Linked DNA regions of Homo sapiens: all the other regions are linked to region 3. The links are contacts of gene promoters, found by promoter capture Hi-C in blood cells and fetal thymus (Javierre and others, 2016). All regions are on one chromosome and are shown on one strand. The core of a region is centred on a gene start or on the middle of the fragment in contact, and the rest is flanking DNA. Distances in the headings are between cores, read along the strand shown. Region 1 overlaps LOC105378258 (a long non-coding RNA gene). Region 2 overlaps RNF34 (ring finger protein 34). Region 3 holds the start of COX6A1 (cytochrome c oxidase subunit 6A1).

What was found. Contacts are between HindIII fragments. The CHiCAGO score rates a contact against its expected background, and 5 or more counts as called.
Region 1: a fragment that was not itself captured here is called in contact with the fragment with the promoter of COX6A1 in region 3 in 3 of 17 cell types (total B cells, naive B cells and total CD8 T cells); the score reaches 7.8 in total B cells.
Region 2: a contact is called between a fragment that was not itself captured here and the fragment with the promoter of COX6A1 in region 3, in 1 of 17 cell types (fetal thymus). The highest score is 5.7, in fetal thymus.

Annotation. Positions count from the first base shown.
Region 1 is chr12:121,058,970-121,062,866 of GRCh38, forward strand. It overlaps LOC105378258 (a long non-coding RNA gene), which reads right to left. Exons shown (of 4, transcript XR_007063492.1): 4 at 321-787. It also overlaps the pseudogene OASL2P. Among named protein-coding and RNA genes, the nearest start is that of OASL, 22 kb to the left of the region's middle. RefSeq lists enhancers at 1,033-1,122, 1,243-1,412, 1,433-1,612. The HindIII fragment of the contact is 1,634 bases long and covers 1,150-2,783 here.
Region 2 is chr12:121,401,156-121,405,493 of GRCh38, forward strand. The region is part of intron 1 of RNF34 (ring finger protein 34); the gene reads left to right. Among named protein-coding and RNA genes, the nearest start is that of RNF34, 3.2 kb to the left of the region's middle. RefSeq lists an enhancer at 1-134. The HindIII fragment of the contact is 2,173 bases long and covers 333-2,505 here.
Region 3 is chr12:120,436,863-120,440,687 of GRCh38, forward strand. It overlaps COX6A1 (cytochrome c oxidase subunit 6A1), which reads left to right and starts at 1,251. Exons shown (of 3, transcript NM_004373.4): 1 at 1,251-1,367; 2 at 1,517-1,659; 3 at 3,592-3,825. The coding sequence starts at 1,265. The coding sequence ends at 3,675. It also overlaps the pseudogene LOC124903126. RefSeq lists enhancers at 1,288-1,497, 1,424-1,945. The HindIII fragment of the contact is 8,043 bases long and covers 90-3,825 here.

The sequences.
Region 1 (3,897 bases), core at 717-3,216, 620 kb after region 3:
AAAAATTTTTTTTAAATAATATATAAAAAAGTTTAAAATTTTAAATAATTGAGATGAGGTCTTGCAATGTTGCCCAGGCTGGCCTTGAACTCCTGGGTTCAAGTGATCCTCCCCACTCAGCGTCCCAAAGTGCTGGGATTACAGGTGTGAGCCACTGTGCCTGGCCAAAAGGCATAAATTTTATACAAACCTGCTACCCATAGTCCACTTGATTCCCTGGCACTTAGAGAGCTGGATCCCAAATCATCATCATCATCATCATCATCATCATCATCATCATCCAGATTTGTAGAATAGTTTACTGCTTAAGAGCACTTTTCTATGCTTTATCCCATTTATTGTTCATTAGAAACCGGTTTTAGAGAGGAAGAGACCGATGCTCAGAGAGACAAAATAACTCATCCCTTACCTATCCCACAGCCCCACAGTCCCACAGGGCAGAGCTGGGATTTGAACCCCGGGGGTTCCTGAGTGCTCACCTTTGCCATCTTCAGCACCCTGACTTCCTGGTCCAGAATCAGCTCATTATAGAAGAACTGATCCCTCAAGAACTGCTCAGTTCAATGCCCGGCATCCTTCACTTCATCCTTCCAGTCTCCCTGGGGCTGGAGGCTGTTTTACGAAGGCAGACTGGAAGGATGTTTTATGAAGACATCCAGCCTGTCCCCAGGGGTGTCATACAGGTCCTGGAAGCCTGCCATCTCTGTGGGACCAGGAATGAATCGTCTCTGCTTCTGCCCAGCCCTGTAAGGGGCAACTCCCAGCCTTTGTCCAGTAGGCCACAGAACTGCAGAAGGGCAGGGAGATGGTGTGGGTTAGAGAGAGAGTTAGCTGCCCTTTTTCTTTCTTTTTTTTTTTTTTTTTGATACAGAGTCTTGCTCTGTCACCCATGGCGTGATCTCAGCTCACCGCAACCTCTGCCTCCCGGGTTCAAGGGATTCTCCCACCTCAGCCTCCTGTGTAGCTGGGATTACAGGCACCTGACACCACGCCCGGCTAATTTTTGGTATTTTTGGTATTTTTAGTAGAAACGGGGTTTCACCATGTTGGCCAGGCTGGTCTCAAACTCCTGACCTCAGGTGATCTGCCCGCCTTGGGCTCCCAAAGTGCTGGGATTACAGGCGTGAGCCACCGACGGAAGAATCACTAAGCTTACTTTCCTCTTTTTAGGGTGCAGAGAGGGCTAGGGGGCCCTCCAGGCATCAGCTGAGCCTCCCTCTGCTGGGCTGCCTTAGTTCAGCAGCCATCTCTCCTGCCGGCTGAGAATGGAAACTGAAACTGAACTTTGTTTTGTTTGTTTGGGTTTTTTTGTTTTGTTTTGTTTTGTTTTAATTGGAAACAGAAAATTTGCTGAGCTTTGAAAGAGGAATTTTCTCTTTCCATTTGAGGTTGCCAGGAAAAAAGGCTGGAGATGGAGCCAAGTGCCCCTTGGGCTTCCTTGAGAGGAAGGTTCTCAGGCTGGGAGTTTCCCAGGGTGTCCTGGAGCTGGGCTGCCCCCACCTCTCCATCCCCTATTTCCTGCTGCAGGAGCAGACCTTGTCTCCCTACGGGAACTCAGTAGTGTCTGCCCCGGAATCAGAAGGTGCTGGCTCCTTGGGGTGAGGGGATGGGGGCTTGGGCTGAGCCCCGGGAGTCCTGGGGCCTGGGATTGACTCTTTATTTTCTAAAAGCAAAGACATACTCACCCCTTTACTACTTGTTTTGTTGCGTATATTTAGGTCTCCCCTATCCCCTCACCAATAATCCACAGGAAGGAGGTAATCTTTTAAAAAATTGTCTTTAGGGGGCGCTGTTCTCTCAAGAACTTCATTTTGAAGAGCAAACTGACAGTTTGTGGTAGACACATTGGCTTTTAAAGATCTCAACTAGCGACCAGGCGCGGTGGCTCTCGCCTGTAATCCAGCACTTTGGGAGGCCGAGGCGGGAGGATCGCTTGAGGCCAGGAGTTTGAGACCAGCCTGGCTAACATGATGAAACCTCGTCTCTACTAAAAATACAAAAAAATTAGCCAGGCGTGGTGGCAGGCGCCTGTAATCCCAGCTACTTGGGAGGCTGAGGCAGGAAAATCACTTGACCCCAGAGGCGGAGGTTGCAGTGAGCCGAGATGGCATCACTGCACTCCAGCCAGACTGTCTCAAAAAAAAAAAAAAAAAAAAAAAAAAAAAAAAAAAAGGAAAGAAAGTAAATCCCACATTGATACTGTGGAGGCCATAAGTATGCACCTATAGGATGCATTTTAAAAATGCCCTAACAACGCATAAATATGTCACTGAGGTTTGTTAAGAATGTCCAGATTTCCAGCCTGGGCAGCATAGTAAAACTCCATCTCTACAAAATATACAAAAAAATTAGCCGGGCATGTGGCATGTGCCCGTAGCTACTAGGGAGGCTGAAGTGGGAGGATCACCTGAGCCTGGGAAGTCGAGGCTGCAGTGAGCTGTGATCAAACCACTGCACTCCAGCCTGGGCAACAGAATGAGACCCTGTCTAAAAAAAATTAAAAATAAAAATGTCCAGATTCATGACAGCCTGTCTCTCACTCTGCTTAACAGAGTAAAAAATACTGAGCCCTGAAACACAGGCTTAGAAGATTCAAAAATTGCCTTGGAGAGGGAAAACCACTAAGTGGGAGATGCCTGTGAAGAGCTTGAGTTACAAAATCTTTTTGAAAACTGAAAGTGGAAAAGAGTAATATTTGTATATTACCCCATAACATATACAAATGTATAGCTGTATCTAAATAAATTAACGAAATATTGGAAGTGCATATTTGATTTCCCTTAAGCTTATGTAATTAGGGCTATGCCAACATATTTTTATTTTTCATTTATTTTTATGTTTTTCCCCATTGATCCATGTGATTCTCAAACACATTTTTATTTTCTCCCTGGCAAATATTTGTTATTAGTCCATTGGAAAAATTGATTGGATTTGGGGATCACCTTGCATTAGGGCATTTTTGGTATATGTACTCATATTTTAAAAACTGTGAATTCCAATATATATTCTTAATAGGAAACTGCGACATTTTTGTCAATTTTCCTCTCTTCCACAAGATGATGCTCCACACCCACCTAAAACAATCACCATTTGTAGTTCCTAGGATCCTAGTACAGAAGAGACAGAGGGGATCTGCTTAATCCTTGTTTTTCAGAAGGCAGACAGGAGCCCAGAGTGTTTACCAGGGCTCTTTGACATTATGGTATTGATATTAACTCCAATAGCTATACTTATCAAGCACTTCGTGTATACCAGGCTCTCTACACAGTTTATTTTATTCTTTATTTTTTTTGAGATGGGATCTGGCTCTGTCACCCAGGCTGGAGTGCGTGGCATGATCTGGGCTCACTGCAACCTCACCTCCCAGGCTCAAGTGATTCTCCCACCTCAGCCTCCTGAGTAGCTGAGACTACAAGTATGCATCACTGAGCCTGGCTAATTTTTGTACTTTTTTTTTTTGTAGAGATGGGGTTTTGCTATGCTGCCCAGGCTGGTCTCAAACTCCTGGGCTCCAGTGATCCGCCTGCCTTGACCTCCCAAAGTGCTGGGATTAGAGTCGCGAGCCTCCACACCCAGCCTCTTTTCACAGTTTAGTTCCCATAATCCCCACAAGACTCTGTGATGCAGGTTCACACCATGTTACATTATGAAGAAATCGAGTCTCAGCAAGATGATGTGGCCTGCCCAGAGTCACACACCAAAGAAGTGGACAAGCTGTGATTCAAACCCAGGTTCTCTGATTCTAAATGCCAGAGGTTTACCCACGACATTATCTTACTGCCCAAGGCACTTATTATTTATTGAGCTCCTACTACGTGCTGGGCACTGGGCGAGGCTTGGAGAATACATAAATGAATAAGGCAGCCCCATTCTACGGGCAGTTTGTTATGTGTCTTC
Region 2 (4,338 bases), core at 169-2,668, 960 kb after region 3:
AGATTGAAAAAGAGTGTCAGCTGGTCACAGAAATTCAGCACATGTTTTGTTGAACGTTTTCTGTGCGTTAGCCAAGAGGGAGACATGGTGAAGAGAAGTAATTCAAAATACAGTCTCATCCCTTAGGAAGGCAGTTTACCATTCAAAAGAAGAGTTATTTGTAAGTAACCATATTACAAGGCAGAAGGCTATAGGTATCAAAAAAAAAAAAAAAAAAAAGGCAGGGACAAAACACAGGAGCCAGAAAGGATACTTCTGGCTACAGAAAGCAAGGAATATTTTTGGAATAGGTAACTTTGGAACTGTGCCTTGAAGTATGAGGATATTGTAAAAGCTTATTTTTAACTTTCCAGTTTAGTTATAAAATATTATTACAGCTTGAAATATCTATTAAAGTATCTAGAAGTAGCTTTATTTCCTGAAAACCACCCTCTGCTGTGTTAAGATCCAAAAACAAAGCAGGGATCTTTATATATAATGCCTCGAAGAATCAGTATCTTTATTAATATTAAATTTGTGGCCCATTAAGGAACTAGCTATCGAAGGAAAGAATTAGAGACAGGTCCAGTGTTGAAATTTTTAAACAAGTTCTTTGAAAACAGACGTGTGTTTTGAATTGAAGTGGAAGGTACTACTTTCTAAGATGAAATTTTAGAAACAAAGTTTGGTGGCAATTGAAATTATAGAAAAGATACGTATTTTCAGAAGCAAAATATGGACCTGAATAGACATCAGCCTGTGCCAGATGACAGTTATAAATGATGCTTTTGTTTTTGTGAAACTGGATTTACACCATTGAGGATTTGGGCTGTTAAATGTTTATTATTTAACTTAATGTTGATTTATATTGAAATTGTTTAATTGTGGGTATGCTCATCTGTAGATTTCTGGGCAGAGACTGATTCCTGATGTCATGGAATGCTAACATGTGAATGTTCATGTAAGGAAATACTTCTTTCTGTGGAATTAAAATTACATTAAAAGCTAAGCAAGTATACCTGGCCGGGTGCAATAGCTCACGCCTATAATCCCAGCACTTTGGGAGGCCAAGGCAGATGGATCACTTGAGGTCAGGAGTTCGAGAACAGCTTGGCCAACATAGCAAAACCCTGTCTCGATTAAAAATTATTTTAAAAAGAAAAAAAGGAAAAAAAAAGTTAAGCAGTTAAAAATAAACAAGAAAAGCTAAGCAATTATATGGATAAGTACATGTTCACTCAAACCTGGAGCAGCTGGTTTTAGTATATGTACGGAATGGGTATTTACTTTCTCCCTTTGGCGTTTTGGTTTGGTTTGGTTTGGTTTGGTTTAGAAACTGATGTTTTGAAATAGGTCTTACCTCTCAGACTCAAGTAACTTTTTAACCTTGCAGTAACATCCAATCAACTTCCTATAAGGGATTAAAAAAAAAAATCCAAATTGGTGCCCTGTGTTAATTTGATTTAATCCTCTTTCCCATTTTTCCTTATTTATATTGATCTCACCATTAATTGTGCTAATCTGGGTTCTTCCAAGCTCAAAATGAGATATCAAGGAGAAAGTAATCTACTGAATGTAATTCCTTTTCCTTTTTTTTTCTCTGAAAGGTGGGGGAGTGGTACTAAGGATCAAGTATACTGTTAAAAGAAAACAAAAACCCAAGCATGAGGAAGGTAACATTTGTATCTATAGCACATGTTATTGTAATAATCGATCAGTTTGGCCAATGTCTTGTCTAAAAGTATTACATTTTAGAGTTCATCATCTGTTTTTGCAACCTGCTTAATGTCCAAATGGTATGAGAGAAATAATTTAGGATGTAGAATTCCTTCCTTTGTGGTATATGGTCGGATATTTGGTCACTAAGAAAGAGTTAGGTCCCTGCATATTGTATTTCAGTTGAAGCAGCAGTTTTGATAAGAAATCCTTTCACATTCTAAGGAGCATATGTTTCTCAAATGGCTCTAAATAGGATAAAGAGGCCGGGCGCGGTGGCTCACGCCTGTAGTCCCAGCACTTTGGGAGGCCGAGGCAGGCAGATCACAAGGTCAGGAGGTTGAGACCATCCTGGCTAACACAGTGAAACCCTGTCTCTACTAAAAATACAAAAAATTAGCTGGATGTGGTGGCGGGCGCCTGTAGTCCCAGCTACTCTGGAGGCTGAGGCAGGAGAATGGCGTGAACCCGGGAGGCAGAGTTTGCAGTGAGCCAAGATTGCGCCACTGCACTCCAGCCTGGGCAACAGAGCAAGACTCTGTCTCCAAAAAAAAAAACCAAAACAAAAAAAAAAAAGGATAAAGATTTTGCTTTTTTATCAACTGTTTTTTCTGCTTTGCTTTTAGTTATGTAGGAAAGTTTAACCTAACCAAGATTAAACTGTAAAACCGATTATTTTATATCACCGTTGCTAAGATTTAATACATCTTTTTCCTGTCGTTTAACACAGGACATTGAGTTTTAGCAAACTGAAGGTTGTCCAGAGTTTGAAACAAACCCTGGACATATAGTGGGTGAGTTCTCTGAGGAAGCTTTCATTGATGGAAGAACAGTATCGCTCCTTGGTCCTTGTAGATTCATGTAGCATCTGAGACAATTATTTTTGAATTTAAAACTTCTAGGTTCATCCTTAAAATAACTGTGTAAATAATATATTTAACTTAGAGTTATGGCAAGCAAGGTAGACGCTTATGAGAAGAGTCTATGGGTTTATTATTACATTGCTATTTACCTAGTTTAATAAAAAGTGAATGACTGTGTAGTAACATATTAGAGTTTTGGCAAGCAAGATAGACTCTTACGAGAAGAGTCTATGGCATTATTATTACCTTGCTATTTACCTAGTTTAATAAAAAGTGAATGACTTAGATCATTTAGTTTTCTGTTTCTTTTTTTTTTTTTTGAGATGGAATCTCACTCTGTCGCCAGGCTGGAGTGCAGTGGCACGATCTCAGCTCACTGCAACCTCTGCCTCTCGGGTTCAAACAGTTCTCCTGCCTCAGCTTCCCAAGTAGCTGCCATGCCCGGCTAATTTTTTTTTTTTTTCTTCGTATTTAGTAGAGACGGAGTTTCACAATGTTGCCCAGGCTGGTCCCAAACTCCTGAGCTCAGGCAGTCCACTTGCCTTGGCCTCCCAAACTGCTAGGATTACAGGCTTGAGCCATGGCACCTGGCCTAGTTGTCTGTTTTCATACTCATAAACTTTCTTTTCCCACTCTCCCCCTATACTTCTCTTGTGTCTGGCTGTCATTTAATCTTTTTTTTTTTTTTTTTTTTTTTTTGAGATGGAGTCTCTCTTTGTTGCCCAGGCTGGAGTGCGGTGGCACCATCTCAGCTTACTGCAGTCTCCGCCTCAAGTGATTCTCCTGCCTCAGCCTCCTGTGTAGCTGGGACTACAGTTGTGCACCACCACACCCAGCTAATTTTTTTTGGTATTTTTAGTAGAGACCGGGTTTCACCATCTTGGCTAGGCTGGTCTTGAACTCCTGACCTCAAGTGATTCTGGCCTCCTAAAGTGCTGGGATTAGAGGTGTGAGCTACTGCGCCCAGCCTGTCATTTAATCTTCATGGAAACTACCATAGCTTTTCTGATTCTTCGTTCTAGTCTGGCTGGTTGATAATATATTTAATGGAATCATTAAAAGTTTAGGGTTGAAAATTTGTGGTAAATTTGTGAATTCTTTAAATTGAGCATTTTGAAGTATTTTCTCCCCACAGGGATTCTGAAAACATATTAGATTATACACACACAGAAGCAAAGACAGCTGAACCTTGAGGCCATTTGAAAATCCTGGCACTGTGCCAGAAAGAGAGCTGGGCTGCTGCTCTTGCAAAGAAACAGAACACCTTTCCTCTTGCTTTTGTTGACTGTAATGATGTTTCATGGGCTTATATTGTTTGACTCTGACTGAGGAACCTGAGAGAGTCCTTATAACCTTATTGGCTGGAAACTGTCATTCCTACTCTTACGCAGATTATTTAGGTTTGTATTCTTTCCCCTCCCATTTGCTTCCTCTCCTTTGCTCCTACAGAGGGGAGGGGGCTTCTAATTCATTTTTGGGGAGGGAACAGTATGGGAGAAACACTGTCAGTCTCTGCTATGGGAGGAAAAAGAGGGACTTGAATATTGAGGAGTTTCAGTGAAGGAACTGACATGCTTGGCTCAGTACTTTCTGGGACCTTCTCACATTTGTCTTCCTGTAGTGAAGATGGAGTTCTGGTCTCCACTCAACTAGCTGGTAAGCTGCTCTTGGTCAGCTGTATATTATCCAGACTTGGCTACAGAGCTAAGGTTCTGTTCTCCAGTTGATGCTATCAGTAAAAACAAACATTTTAATTTCCATTTGTCTTCTTGCTTTTTTT
Region 3 (3,825 bases), core at 1-2,500:
GCTATACTGTGTGTTTACACATAGGTGTGTCTTTAGAGGAAAGGGTTCAAAGCTTTCATTAGATTCTTTTTTTTTCTAATAAAGAAAAAAGCTTTGTTGCCCAGGCTGGTCTCAAACTCTCAAGCTCAAGCAATCTGTCCGCCTCGGCCTCTCAAAGTGTTGGGATTACAGCCATGAGCCACCACGCTGGTCCTCATTACATTCTCAAAGGGGCCTATTGAAAAAAAAAAAAAAAAAAAAAAAAAAGGCCGGGCACAGTGGCTCACGCCTGTAATCCCAGCACTTTGGGAGGCCGAGGAAGGCGGATCACAAGGTCAGGAGATGGAGACCATCCTGGCCAATATGGTGAAACCCTGTCTCTACCAAAGTACAAAAAAAAAAATTAGCCAGGCATGGTGGTGCGTGCCTGTAATCCCAGCTATTCAGGAGGCTGAGGCAGTAGAACTGCTTGAACCTGGGATGCAGAGGTTGCAGTGAGCCAAGATTGCACCGCTGCACTCCAGCCTAAGCAACAAGAGTCAAACTCCGTCTCAAAAAAAAAAAAAAAAAAAAAAAAAAAAAAGATGAGACTGTTGAGTCAGGATTAGGATCCAGGTCTGCTGGCACCAATTTCAGTGCTCTTTATACTTTCTGTTGCTATTCATTCATTCATCCATTCATTCAGCAAATTTATATCAAGTATCTGGTATGTGCCAGGTATGATTCCAAATTACACCATTCCCAGATTATTCTGAGAATGCTGCAGTGCCAAACTCTTGGTATCACAGACTTTATATTCTAGTGGGGGAGACAGACAAAATAATAATATAACGACGAAGGTGCAATGTTATGTGCTATGAGAAAACGCAGTCGGAGGATGGCGAGGAAGGGGAACGGAATTTTAGATAGGGCGGTCTGGGATCAGAACCTCCAGATGCCCGTCCATGGACTCCAACGAAGGGAGCGATTCCAGGTACCAGGGCACCCTGCACAAACCTCTCTTGAGCTTCCGCCTCGCCCAGGTGGGGACGGTAGGGAGACCGGAGGGCACACGCATGCGCACGAAGGAAACGGTAAAGCCTGAAGGGAGGTGCAGAGCGCATGCTCTCTCTTGCCCGAGATGCCGAGGATTTTGACAAGGACTCCGTCGTCCCGGATGATAGTGCTCAGGTTAATGCCAGTGGGAGGGCGGCGCCCAATAGTAACTTCCTTTGGAGGTTGTAGTACCGCCCCCAGAGCCAATTTTCCACTTCCGCTTCCGGCGCTGCGGCAGTCCAGATCAAAAATGGCGGTAGTTGGTGTGTCCTCGGTTTCTCGGCTGCTGGGTCGGTCCCGCCCACAGCTGGGGCGGCCTATGTCGAGTGGCGCCCATGGCGAAGAGGGCTCAGGTACTGGGGCCGGGGTCGACGGGTCGAGCCTCAGCCCCACTCGGGCGAGACAGGGAGGGACTGTGACCTTGGCCCGAGGCCTTGCGGGAGGGAAAGTGAGACCCGGGCCCGCCCCATACCGGCGCTGAACGTTTGTGGCTTCTCCGCAGCTCGCATGTGGAAGACTCTCACCTTCTTCGTCGCGCTCCCCGGGGTGGCAGTCAGCATGCTGAATGTGTACCTGAAGTCGCACCACGGAGAGCACGAGAGACCCGAGTTCATCGCCTACCCCCATCTCCGCATCAGGACCAAGGTACGCCCTTGTACATCTCTTCAAGCGTCCGTTCTCTTTTCGTTATGTGTGCCTTAGTGCAAGTTCTTCATTCTCTGAAGGCATGGGTGCCAGGCGTGTACAGCTTGTTTATCCTCACAAACAGAAAATGTATTTTCTTCCATTTTGTGGATGGACAGCTGACACTTGGGATTACGTCTCAATTCTCTTCTTCAAGGTCATACAATAAGTGCTCTTCAGTTTCCCTTTTCTCCGATTCATCCTACCTCCTGCCTTCTGAGACAGTTCTTTTTTTTTTTTTTTTTTTTTTTTTTACTTCTGAGACAGTTCTGAAACAGGTGTCCGTTGTGTAAAGCCTGGAGGTTTGGGAAATCCAATTAGAGTGGCAAAGTCTGAAGGTGGTTCGCGTAAGCGAACCCAGCAGCTACATGGGAGGCTGAAGCAGGAGAATCCCTTGAACCTAGGAGGCGGAGTTTGCAGGGAGCTGAGATCGTGCCACTGCACTCCGGCCTGGGCAACAGAGCGAGACTCTGGTCTCAAAACAAAACAAAACAGCAACAACAAAACATGGGCATCTGGCAGCTACTAGTTGCATAATGAAGAGACTGACAGCTTTCTCTATTCCCCACCAATACCTTTTCTCGACTGTTTTATCATTGGTTGTTGATGTAGATATATTACAATGTTGTGTCCTCTGTTGTTTGCTGTATCTTTAACAAGGGCTTATTCTGATTCTTCAATACTGGCCATGCGCGGTGGCTCACGCCTGTAATCCCAGCACTTTGGGAGGCCAAGGTGGGTGGATCGCCGGAGGTCAGGAGTTCAAGACCAGCCTCGTCAACATGGCGAAACACTATCTCTACTAAAAGTACAAAAAGTAGCCGGGCGTGGTGGCGGGCGCCTGTAATCCCAGCTACTCGGGAGGCTGCGGTGGGAGAATCTAGGAGGTTGAACCCAGGAGGAGGAGGTTGCAGTGAGCCAAGATCCAGCCATTGCACTGCAGCCTGGGCAACAGGAGTGAAACTCCGTCTCAAAAAAAAATAGTAATAATATACTTGATCTTAGCCAAAAGGCCGAGAAGTGATGAAAAAAGTTATTATTATTATTATTATTATTACATCACCTAGCCCATATAGGACTGGCCTTGTAGAAACTTAACCTAGACTCTTGAATTTGTTGAGTCTTTGAGCGGCACTCCCATCCTTGTACAATGCAATTAGAAGCCAAACAGTAAAGGTTTCTCAGCCTCAGCACTGTTGACATTTGGGGCTGGGTAATTCTTGTTGGGGGGCTATCTTGTGCATTGTGAAATGTTTAGCCATATCCTTGGCCTGTACCCACTAGGTGGCAGTAGTACCTGCGCAACCCCACTCCCGCTTCCCCCTCCCCCGCCCCCATCACAGTGTCTCCCGATACTACCCAGTGTGCCCTGAAGGGGCAAAATCACCCTGGGTTGGAGACCGTTGCCCTAAAGTAATGCTTTTCAAAGGTAATAGGCAAGATAATTCAGGGTGGGCTGCAGTTTCCCAGCCCAGATATTGTTTGAAGTCTGGGATGGTGCCAGAAATCTGCATTTAATTAAGCATCTCCCTCCCCTAATACTGCCACCATTTTGATATAGGTGATTTGAGGATTACACTTTCATAAACACAGCACTGGATATACTAGTTACTAGGGAGAGGATGATGAGTAACTAACTTGAGCTTGCATTTTCTGCCATCCATATTTGTTTCTGGAATTAAAACTGTCCTGTAGCCAGGATAACTTTAAGGGCTCCCCTGGTAGTTATAAGAGCTCCTTAAATAATGGGAAGGTTGAACTACACCAGTAGATAAAGGACTAATTTCCATTTTGTTTTTATATATGATCTGTCACCCCGTTATAAGCAGTTCATGACGGTGTTCTTTCTAAATTATTTTCTGGAATTATCTAACTGACATCTTCACTCCACAGCCGTTTCCCTGGGGAGATGGTAACCATACTCTATTCCATAACCCTCATGTGAATCCACTTCCAACTGGCTACGAAGATGAATAAAGAGAATCTGGACCACTACCCGGGCACCAGGGACCACAGCACTGGTTTGGACCGTTACTCTGCACATGGACCAGAAAAAGTATATGGGACCTTAAGCTCACCTTCTTTACTTGTATCAAATGATGACTGGTATACTGGTCTCCCATCCCT